Regions from separate parts of the Homo sapiens genome. Here regions 1 and 3 are each linked to region 2. Evidence: promoter capture Hi-C in human tissues and cell types (Jung and others, 2019). All regions are on one chromosome and are shown on one strand. The core of a region is centred on a gene start or on the middle of the fragment in contact, and the rest is flanking DNA. Distances in the headings are between cores, read along the strand shown.

What was found. Contacts are between HindIII fragments. The study calls those that stand out against the background at their distance.
Region 1: a contact is called between a fragment that was not itself captured here and the fragment with the promoter of SCAMP1 in region 2, in 1 of the 25 tissues and cell types used here (pancreas).
Region 3: a fragment that was not itself captured here is called in contact with the fragment with the promoter of SCAMP1 in region 2 in 2 of the 25 tissues and cell types used here (IMR-90 fibroblasts and dorsolateral prefrontal cortex).

What each region holds. Positions count from the first base shown.
Region 1 is chr5:78,890,299-78,893,135 of GRCh38, forward strand. All of the region lies in intron 4 of ARSB (arylsulfatase B), which reads right to left. Among named protein-coding and RNA genes, the nearest start is that of ARSB, 94 kb to the right of the region's middle. The HindIII fragment of the contact is 6,969 bases long and covers 1-2,837 here.
Region 2 is chr5:78,359,235-78,362,261 of GRCh38, forward strand. It overlaps SCAMP1 (secretory carrier membrane protein 1), which reads left to right and starts at 1,383. Exons shown (of 9, transcript NM_004866.6): 1 at 1,383-1,494. The coding sequence starts at 1,438. It overlaps SCAMP1-AS1 (SCAMP1 antisense RNA 1), which reads right to left and starts at 1,307. Exons shown (of 2, transcript NR_105014.1): 1 at 980-1,307; 2 at 1-751. RefSeq lists enhancers at 435-1,031, 833-922, 953-1,112, 1,032-1,628, 2,023-2,142 and silencers at 1,293-1,382, 1,813-1,932. The HindIII fragment of the contact is 19,046 bases long and covers 1-3,027 here.
Region 3 is chr5:78,972,113-78,974,897 of GRCh38, forward strand. All of the region lies in intron 1 of ARSB (arylsulfatase B), which reads right to left. Among named protein-coding and RNA genes, the nearest start is that of ARSB, 12 kb to the right of the region's middle. RefSeq lists an enhancer at 2,521-2,785. The HindIII fragment of the contact is 3,671 bases long and covers 1-2,785 here.

The DNA.
Region 1 (2,837 bases), core at 118-2,617, 530 kb after region 2:
GGAGTGCAGTGGCAGGATCACAGCTCACTGCAGCCTCGATCTCCTGGGCTCAATCAATCCTCCCACTTCAGCCTCCCAAGTAGCTGGGACTACAAGTGTGTGCCACCACGCTTGGCTACTCTTTCCCTGTTGCACTACATTGAATCATTTCTGACAGAATGTGCATTTGATTCTGCCAAGTCTACCTTTAAAACAGCTTTCCAATCATCCCCCCTTCTGCAGCCCATTGCTTTAGGTCAGGCACTCCTCTGTCTGGGCTCCTGGGCTAATTTATATACCGCTTCAAGTTCCCACCAGAGGTGTTTGTAAAACCCAAAATCAATCAGGCCACATGCATGTTTAAAGACCTGATTGCTTTCCAATCAGGGAAAAAGTTCCAACTTCAGGCCCACATATAGAATCCTTCATATCTGCCCCCAACCTCCTTTTTGGGTATCAACTCCTGTCCTCCCCCATAAAAAGTGCCCTGAGCTTCAGTCACGTAGAACTAACTTCTCCCTGTTGTTAGAATATGTCATGCCCTTTCATGCTAATTTTGCCTTTGCACATGTTGGCTCCCTTGCCTAAAGTGCCACGGGTTAAAGATCATATCTTCTGTGAACCTGCCACTTAGTGCCCTAGATGGTCTTCATCTCTGCTCTGTATTTCTGCTACATTTTATGTGCACATTTTCTACTATACTTAGCTCTGTCTATTGTTAATCAGTTGTTCATGGCTTTGTCTTCCCCATGAACTCTGCTTCTCAAGAGCAAAAAGTTTCTTAATGTTTTTATTTCCAAGACCTAGCACAGGACCTACCACACAGAAGGGCTCAATGATTTGGAGGAACAAATAATTAGGGAAAAGGCCACTCACCGAAAATAGAGGTTAAAGGCACTAAACATTAACTTAGGTCACTGCATTGTTTTTTCTAAGCCTTTGTCCAGCTACTCTGTGACCTTGACTTTTCATTGGCTATTCTACATACTGCTGCTTAAACTATAGGAGCTGGCAAGGGGTGCTCTTGGACCCCAGTGAGAATTTAAGTAAATCAAACCCTCAAATATCAGAATTGTTTGTCTAATCTGGTCCCTGGTCAGTTATGTTGGAGTCTAAGAGGGTTGATTGGGAGCATTTCAAGAAGCATCAGTCTTGGCCTGGAAGAAAGAACTCACTTATTCCTTTAACACATCTTTCTTGAGTGCTGCCATGTTCCAGGGACCACTCCAGATCTGGAAAAAGGGCAGCAAACAGGATGGACAAGGTCCTGTCCCTCACGGAGTGAGTGAGAAAAAGAGATAAGATCTCTCCATTCATGGGAGGCAATGACTGGGCTTTGTGGAGGAGCTGAAACCATAAGGACAGGACAGAGCCAGCCAAGTGACCACCAGAGAGATGAGAGCCCAGGCACAGGGAGCAGGAGGCCTTATGCAATCGCACATTAGAGACTAGGGTGTCTGTGTCAAGGCTGCTTCTTAATTAAAGACTAGTTATACTATTAGGTATACTCTGCTGCCAGAAGTTAAGGAAAACTTGAGCTAAATGATGACTAGGTATAAACAAAAAGGTATAGGTCTAGGTGTTTTATGACCATCATCACTTTCCCCTATCACCCCTACTGCCCCATGTCTAATTTCACTGAAATGCAGGGAACTGAGAGGAGCTAAGCACTGTGGGTTTGGGCAAGTACTCAATCTCTGAGCCTAAGTTTCCTTATTTGAGAAATGAGGATAACAAAATACCCACCTTAATATTGTGCCTGGCATAGAAGCAGTGCTAAATAATATTAGCTATTTTTATGTATGCTAGTCATCAGCACCAGCAAAGTACACAGAACAGAATAGGCTCCTATCTGGATATTTACTAAACATATATTAGATTTAAGTATCATAGCCACACTCCAAAACATCACGTTTTCATAAGACCAAAGTATTCTAAGCATAGAGTCCTCCTAGATTGCATTCTCTATTCTTTTTTTTTTTTTTTTTTTTTTTTTGAGACAGTGTCTCACTCTGTCTCCCAGGCTGGAGTACAGTGGTGCAATCTTGGCTCACTGCAACCTCCGCCTCCAGGGTTCAAGCGATTCTCATGCCTCAACTTCCTGAGTAGCTGGGTCTACAGGTGCCCACCACCATGCCCAGCTAATTTTTGCATTTTTAGTGAAGACAGGGTTTCGCCTTGTCGGCCAGGCTGGTCTTGAACTCCAGACCTCAGGTGATTCATCCACCTCGGCTTCCCATAGTGCTGGGATTACAGGCAGAAGCCACCACGCCCAGCCTGCATTCTCTATTCTATAGGTAATTTCTTGAGAAGTGCAACAACACAGTGAATTGTGAGGGGGGTTGTTACTATCAGGGGAGAGCCAGGATAACTCCTTTCTGTTCCCATGAGTTTAAATAAAGGACATCAATTATCATAGAAAAAAACACTATAACAATAGCCTGGGATTCAAATTAAACACCAGAAACTGAAGATTTGTTCAAATACACATTTGATTATTCGTAGGGGTTTAAAATGGTTTGCAGCATTCAGGGCAGATAAGTGCTCTGACCACCAGCTCAGACACTAACCAGACTTTACATCTTGACTAAGAGCACCAGCAAGGAGAATGTCCAGCTGGGCTAGCAAGAGGAGGGTTCTGGTGGAGTGCGACTGGCAGCCAGGCACCAAATAACCGATTGATACGGTTTGGCTGTGTCCCTACCCAAATCTCATCTTGAATTGTAGCTCCCATAATTCCCATGTGTTGTAGGGGAGACCCAGTGGGAGATAATTGAATCACAGGGGCAGATTCCCCCATACTGTTCTCGTGGTAGTGAACAAGCTTCACGAGAGCTGATGATTTTAAAAGGGGTTTC
Region 2 (3,027 bases), core at 133-2,632:
AATCTAGATTCTTCCAATCCTCCGGTACCCACCAAGTCAAAAGAATTCTGGCTCCCTGTAGCTTCATCTAAGTGCTTTTCTGTTAGAGGAGAAAAGTGAGGAAAGCGATGCTCTTTCAATAAGTTCGGCAGGGTGGGGCAAGGAATGGTACAAATTGATTTTTTTTTTTTCTTGAGACAGAGTCTCGCTCTGTCTCCCAGGCTGGAGTGCAGTGGCCCGGTCTCGGCTCACTGCGACCTCCACCTCCCGGATTCAAGCGATTCTCCTGCCTTAGCCTCCAGAGTAGCTGGGACTACAGGCGTACGCCACCACTCCCGGCTAATTTCTGTATTTTTAGTAGAGACGGGGGTTTCACCATATTGGCCAGGCTGGTTTCGAACTCATGACCTTGTGATTCGCCCGCCTCGGCCTCCCAAAGTGTTGGGATTACAGGCGTAAGCCACCGCGCCCGGCCGGTACAAATTAATTTAACACATCTTTTGATAATCTCATCCTTGGTGTTGGAAAAGACGGGAAAATCCAAAAGTGTCTATTTTGTGCCCAAATGCTCAAGTTAATACTCGAGGGCCTTGATCTCTGGCCTCTTGCCATCCCTCTCCCCATTATTTCTGAAGAAGTAGCCATTTTGCAGATTCCGGAGGATGGGAGCCACGGCCGGCCCCTGGTACTGAATCTCATCTCCTTCTCAAGGCTCCTTGGATCAAGTTGGGACCGGCAGCGCCAAGGCTGCTCTCCGTGATTTAGCAGCAACCTAGAGTCAGAGAGACCGGAAGATGGGAGGCCGGGATTCTCAGGTGGGGTCAGGGGTATGCAAAAATCCTTAGCAGCGGCCGCGCCCCCGCCCCGGGGAGGTAATTTGCGGAGGGCGGTGCAGTAGCCTCTCCAGTGCCCGCGTCCCACGGTCTAACGGCACTGCTCCCGGGGTGCGCGGCCCACGACTCAGGCTGCCTCCCCCAACCTGACAAGTGTGCGTCCTTACCACAAAATGCCACCACTTCCCTAAGTGACGCTGGGCCCCGAGGACCTGATTTGAAATCGGTGTTCAGAAGACCGAGCCCGGCTGGACGCAGCTGGCCTCCGGCTGAGAGCGGAGGGGAAGGGTTCCATACTCTCCGAGGATCCCGCGGGCTCGTGGCGTGTGGAACGCTTTTCATCGCTTTCAGTTCCCGTTTCCTTCGCCCCGACTGCCTACTCGGTCGCAGCTAAAGCCCGGAGCGTGGGATCCGGGCCCGGAGGAACGGGATGGCGAACGCGAGCTGCGCCGCGGCCAGGAGCCCGCCGCACCGGGCATGCTCAGTGGCGCGGCCGGCTGGGTGGCCCGCGAGCTGCACCCGGATCTGCTCGGCGGCGGCGACGTGAGCGCGCAGGGGGGCGGCGGCCTCGCCTCGTCTCTCTCTCTGCGCCTGGGTCGGGTGGGTGACGCCGAGAGCCAGAGAGATGTCGGATTTCGACAGTAACCCGTTTGCCGACCCGGATCTCAACAATCCCTTCAAGGTGAGCTTCGGCCCCAGCATCTCCTGCCGCCGCGACGCGTCGTTGTTTGTGAAAACGGACGAGTTCCTTCGCGCCCACTGCGTCTGCCCCTCGGCTCCCCTTAGCAGCCCAGAGAGGGGCGCGGGGCCGCCGTCCTCCATTTGGGGTCGCGCCCCGGCCCCGTGTCACTCCTTTGGGTTTTGGGGCTTGGGGGTGGAACCTCCTCAGCTCGTGCCCGGTCGCCCTTCCACACGTCCCCGACTGGTGAGGGTCGTGTCTGCAGCCGGGACTGGGCCCGCGCGCCCGGAGGGGTCCTGGCCCGCCTCTCAGGAGAGAAAGCCGAGGGCAGGTAGAGTCGCCCCTTGCCAAGCAAGTGTGGCTGGCAGGGCCGGGAGTCGGCGGAGGGGGGCCCGCCCTGGGGTGGGGTTGTCATGGGGACCCGAGGTGGCGGCGGCGGAGAGCTGCGTGGGGTGATGGCAGAGGTGTGGAGGAGGAGAGAGGTGAGGGCACCGAGTATGCTGCAATTAAAAAAAAAAAGGTTATGTTTTTATTTTTTAAACTTGTGTTGCACCCAAATACCACCAGTGGCGCTGCCATCCCCCCTCTTTCTGTTAGGTTGAGGTTGAGGTTATTGATACCAAAGCAAAACTTAAAAATAAACATATCTGGAAAACAATAGTGCACGTGGACGACCTCTTCCCTACCCAGCTGCTTCTAGCAAGGTAAACGATGGGATATTTTCCAAGCTCCTAGTGCGTCACCGGTTCTCTGGGCTATGTGAGGATACCATTTCCTACTTGAGCTGCTTTTCTTCTTGGAGTCGACCTTATCAACCCCGGCTTCGGAAGGGCTTGGCACAGAATCCTGCAAAGGAAGGCGGCTGAGATATTCATCGTCTGCGTTTAAATGAATGCAACATCTAAATAACTCTCTCTTTGAAAGTATTCTGAATTTCCTAATGAGTGTAACTGTTAGCACGTGTAATTTGTTTCCAACTGTTGGTTGAAGTTGTTTCTCAATCCCCCCGGCCATGTGCAGTAGTAACTTTAATTTGCAGTCACACAGAATAAAACAGGAACTCTAATTTGTGGTCACACAAGTGTCACTTCTGGCTTGTTGAGTTTACATCTTTTTACTCCTGGTTTTATCTTTCATTAAGAATCCTGGAAGAGGAAAACTATTTCTGCTCTGATTATTAAATGCCTGATAATTCCAAGGAGGATTATTTTAATGAAATGACCCTGATTATTATTGACAACTCGACTCACTTTGTAGCAGTGTAGAATTAGACTCAGTCACTGTTTCATTGTCCCTAATGTCACTTAAAATTCAGTACAACTGGCCTGTACCTTTCAGTGACATGGTTGCATTTTAAGACTTTTTTTTTTTTCCTGGCAGTTTTGTTTCAATTAGTATTGGACTTGCTTCCATGTTGTGGAAAATCAGGTAGTTCTTAAATGGTAGACTTTCTAAAGAGACCGTTCATAAATTGTTAAATGGGTGTTATTTTAAAATATTTTGAAGATAAAACATCAAGAACCTTTTAGCCTTTCC
Region 3 (2,785 bases), core at 97-2,596, 610 kb after region 2:
GGGCTTAGCCAATGGGGAGCCCTGGCAGGAGTGAGAGGGAAAGAGGAGAGTGCATGGCCTCACCTGACACGCTGCTTAGCCTGGCTACATGAGTCTCTCTACCAAAGGTCACTCTGGAAGCAGACTTCTTTCTCTATCTGCCTCTCTCCTTCTAGGTTCTGGTAATTGGCCCTTCCTTTCTTCTCTTCTGGTCTAGGAGTAGTAACAGCTCCACTGGATTACTACACTATCCCTAGCATTTTGCCCCACACATTCACACCTTTTAAAATGGTCCCTTTGTAAATAAACCCTCCCTAATTTGAATGTGCCACCTCTTTCCAGCTGGGACCCTGAATGATAAGGATGTTATAATATCCAGGCTGGGAAAGGGAAGCATTCCTCTTAGCACATTTGCACGCATACGTACACACACACACACACACACACACACACCCCAAATCAAAGTATTCTTTCCATGGTTAACTCTGGAAGCTTACTGAAGAGAAAATTGACCCTAGGACTCAAAAACTTCATAGCATATAGTATGCTAATTGGCAACCAGGCAGGATAAGTAAAGATAATATTTTATGGAATCCAAAAGCCCCAGTGGAGATAAATGCTCTGCGAAAATTCCCTTAAATGGAAAGCTCATCCATCACATGCAGAGAATTAATTCTGATTGCTAGAAAGCACTGCCAAGAGATGTTGTGTGATTTGGTTTTCCTAAGCCGTGGGCACCAAGCCAGGTGGTCAGCTGAAGCCTTCCTCCATTACTGACAATCATATGGAGCAGGGAATGTGTTCTTTTCAGTTCCTGAGAATTTATTTGACAGAGCATTTTTATGGCATTATTGGGAAGCAGAAGCCAAACCCTGGATGACATCCAAAAACATGTTTTCGGTCTGTTCAAACACTATCTGAAGGAAGGAAGCTGTAATGTGTAGAGAAGCAGTAAACAGGCAAATGCCGAACTGGTTCCAACCCAGCACTTCAGCACAGAACTACAGAGCCACGCCATGCTGCAAGGGGCAGGAAGGCAACCGGGCACCAATAGGAATCAAAAGAAAAAAATAAGGGTGCCCTGATAAACACAACAGAATATAAAACAATTTCATTCTAACACCCATCTGCAATGTCCAAAGAAGTGTGTGTGAATGGAGAAGGTTCTACATGTAATATACGAAAGTCCAAGGGGTTACTTCCCTATCTACCATGTGTGGCTGTCTCCTCTTCATTAAACCAAATCTTCTCTCAAAAAACAACTTCTCCTAAGATTTTACTTGACCATCAAAAATCCTCTCCACAAAGGCAAAAGGTCTGCAAATCCAGTGGAGGACCTGGCTTGTTCTAGGCTCTTTCTGTGACATAACTGAGAGATCCTTATTTACATATTGGTTGCACGTAACAATTTATTTGGTCCAGTGTGTTATTCTGTCTTCTGCACACCTAGGAGTTCCTTGCAGTATAGTCTCATGAGCTTAAAGGAGAAAATCCAATCTCTTGCTGGGGGAGAGGAAGATGGCAGCTCCCATATCAGAATCTCTTTCAACTCCCCTTTCAGAGGTCCAGACAGTCAATTGATTAGTTATCTATATGGGAGTTCAGAGCACAATATTTCAGCTACACTCAAACTCTCCCAAGAGCGAAGCAAACCACTGCTGCACAGAAGGCGATAGATGCTCTTTCTCTCCTCACCTCAACAGTGTTGAGATAATATCCCGTTGAACAGAAGGGAGGTTCTGTCCAGTCAGTCTGGTCTGAGCAAAATGAACTCATATCCTCATGTGCCCACATATGTGTGCAATACCTCCTGCTGCAGTACTTAAAAATTCAGAAAAATGGGCCACTCTACCCCTCCACCTTATACACCAGAGAGCCTATGGGAAGCTTCATGATCAGAACGCAATCACAGAACATGCTGGTGGCAAAGCAGGAGTTCAGAATTTCTAGCCTGTGCCTCGGCCAGTACACAGCAGGTTTTAATCACGGTCAAGTAACACTTGTGCCACCTTAGGGTTTATTCCTGGAGATGCCCAAAGAACAAATGGATAGTGGAAAATCTGCTCCCTCCCCACAGAAGCCATCTGAAAAGCAGTCAGCTGCCCATGCTGCTGAAGCCAAGAGCCTACAGACACGCATTATGTGTGCTAGGGGCCTGGCTTTGCCATCTGGCTTGGCCCTTCAGGACTCGGGCTGCAGAACTGGCCCGTGTCACTGACAGTTTTAAGAGTCTATTTATTTTGGTGTTGATTAGTGAAGAGTGCAAATCTCTGACTAAACCCACAAAGGGATGTTGTTTGTAAAAAAGAATAAACAAGTCAGAAAGGGTTTCAGTGCCTCCCTCTGTTTAAATTATAATTCCAAAGAAAGCCCAAATGGAAAAGGAAGGAAAATATGAAGAAAGCTGAGGGAAAGGAATCTCTCAAAAGGTGATATGATTAAGGAAACGCAAACAAAAGATAATGACCAGAGAGCAACAGCTTATGCTCAAAGTGATTCCTGAAATGACAAACCTCGTAAATCAAGCAACCAGAAAATCCTCTAACTCCACTGGTCATATTCCACTTAGCTCCAAACTTATTTCCTTATTTCCTCATTTGCAATTTCCTGGCAGGTAAAAGATATAAAATCTGGAATTGTTTCTTTAAAATAGCTGCAATGTTTGCAGAATGAGGCCTCCGCACTCCCCTTCCCTCCTGGGAAAATGTCTCTTGGATTTGGCTAGGCTTAGGAAGGACACCTGGCTTTAGCAAACCCATGAAAGTCACCCCAGGGCTCTGCTGTGCTTTAGTGAGGCCATCTTGCT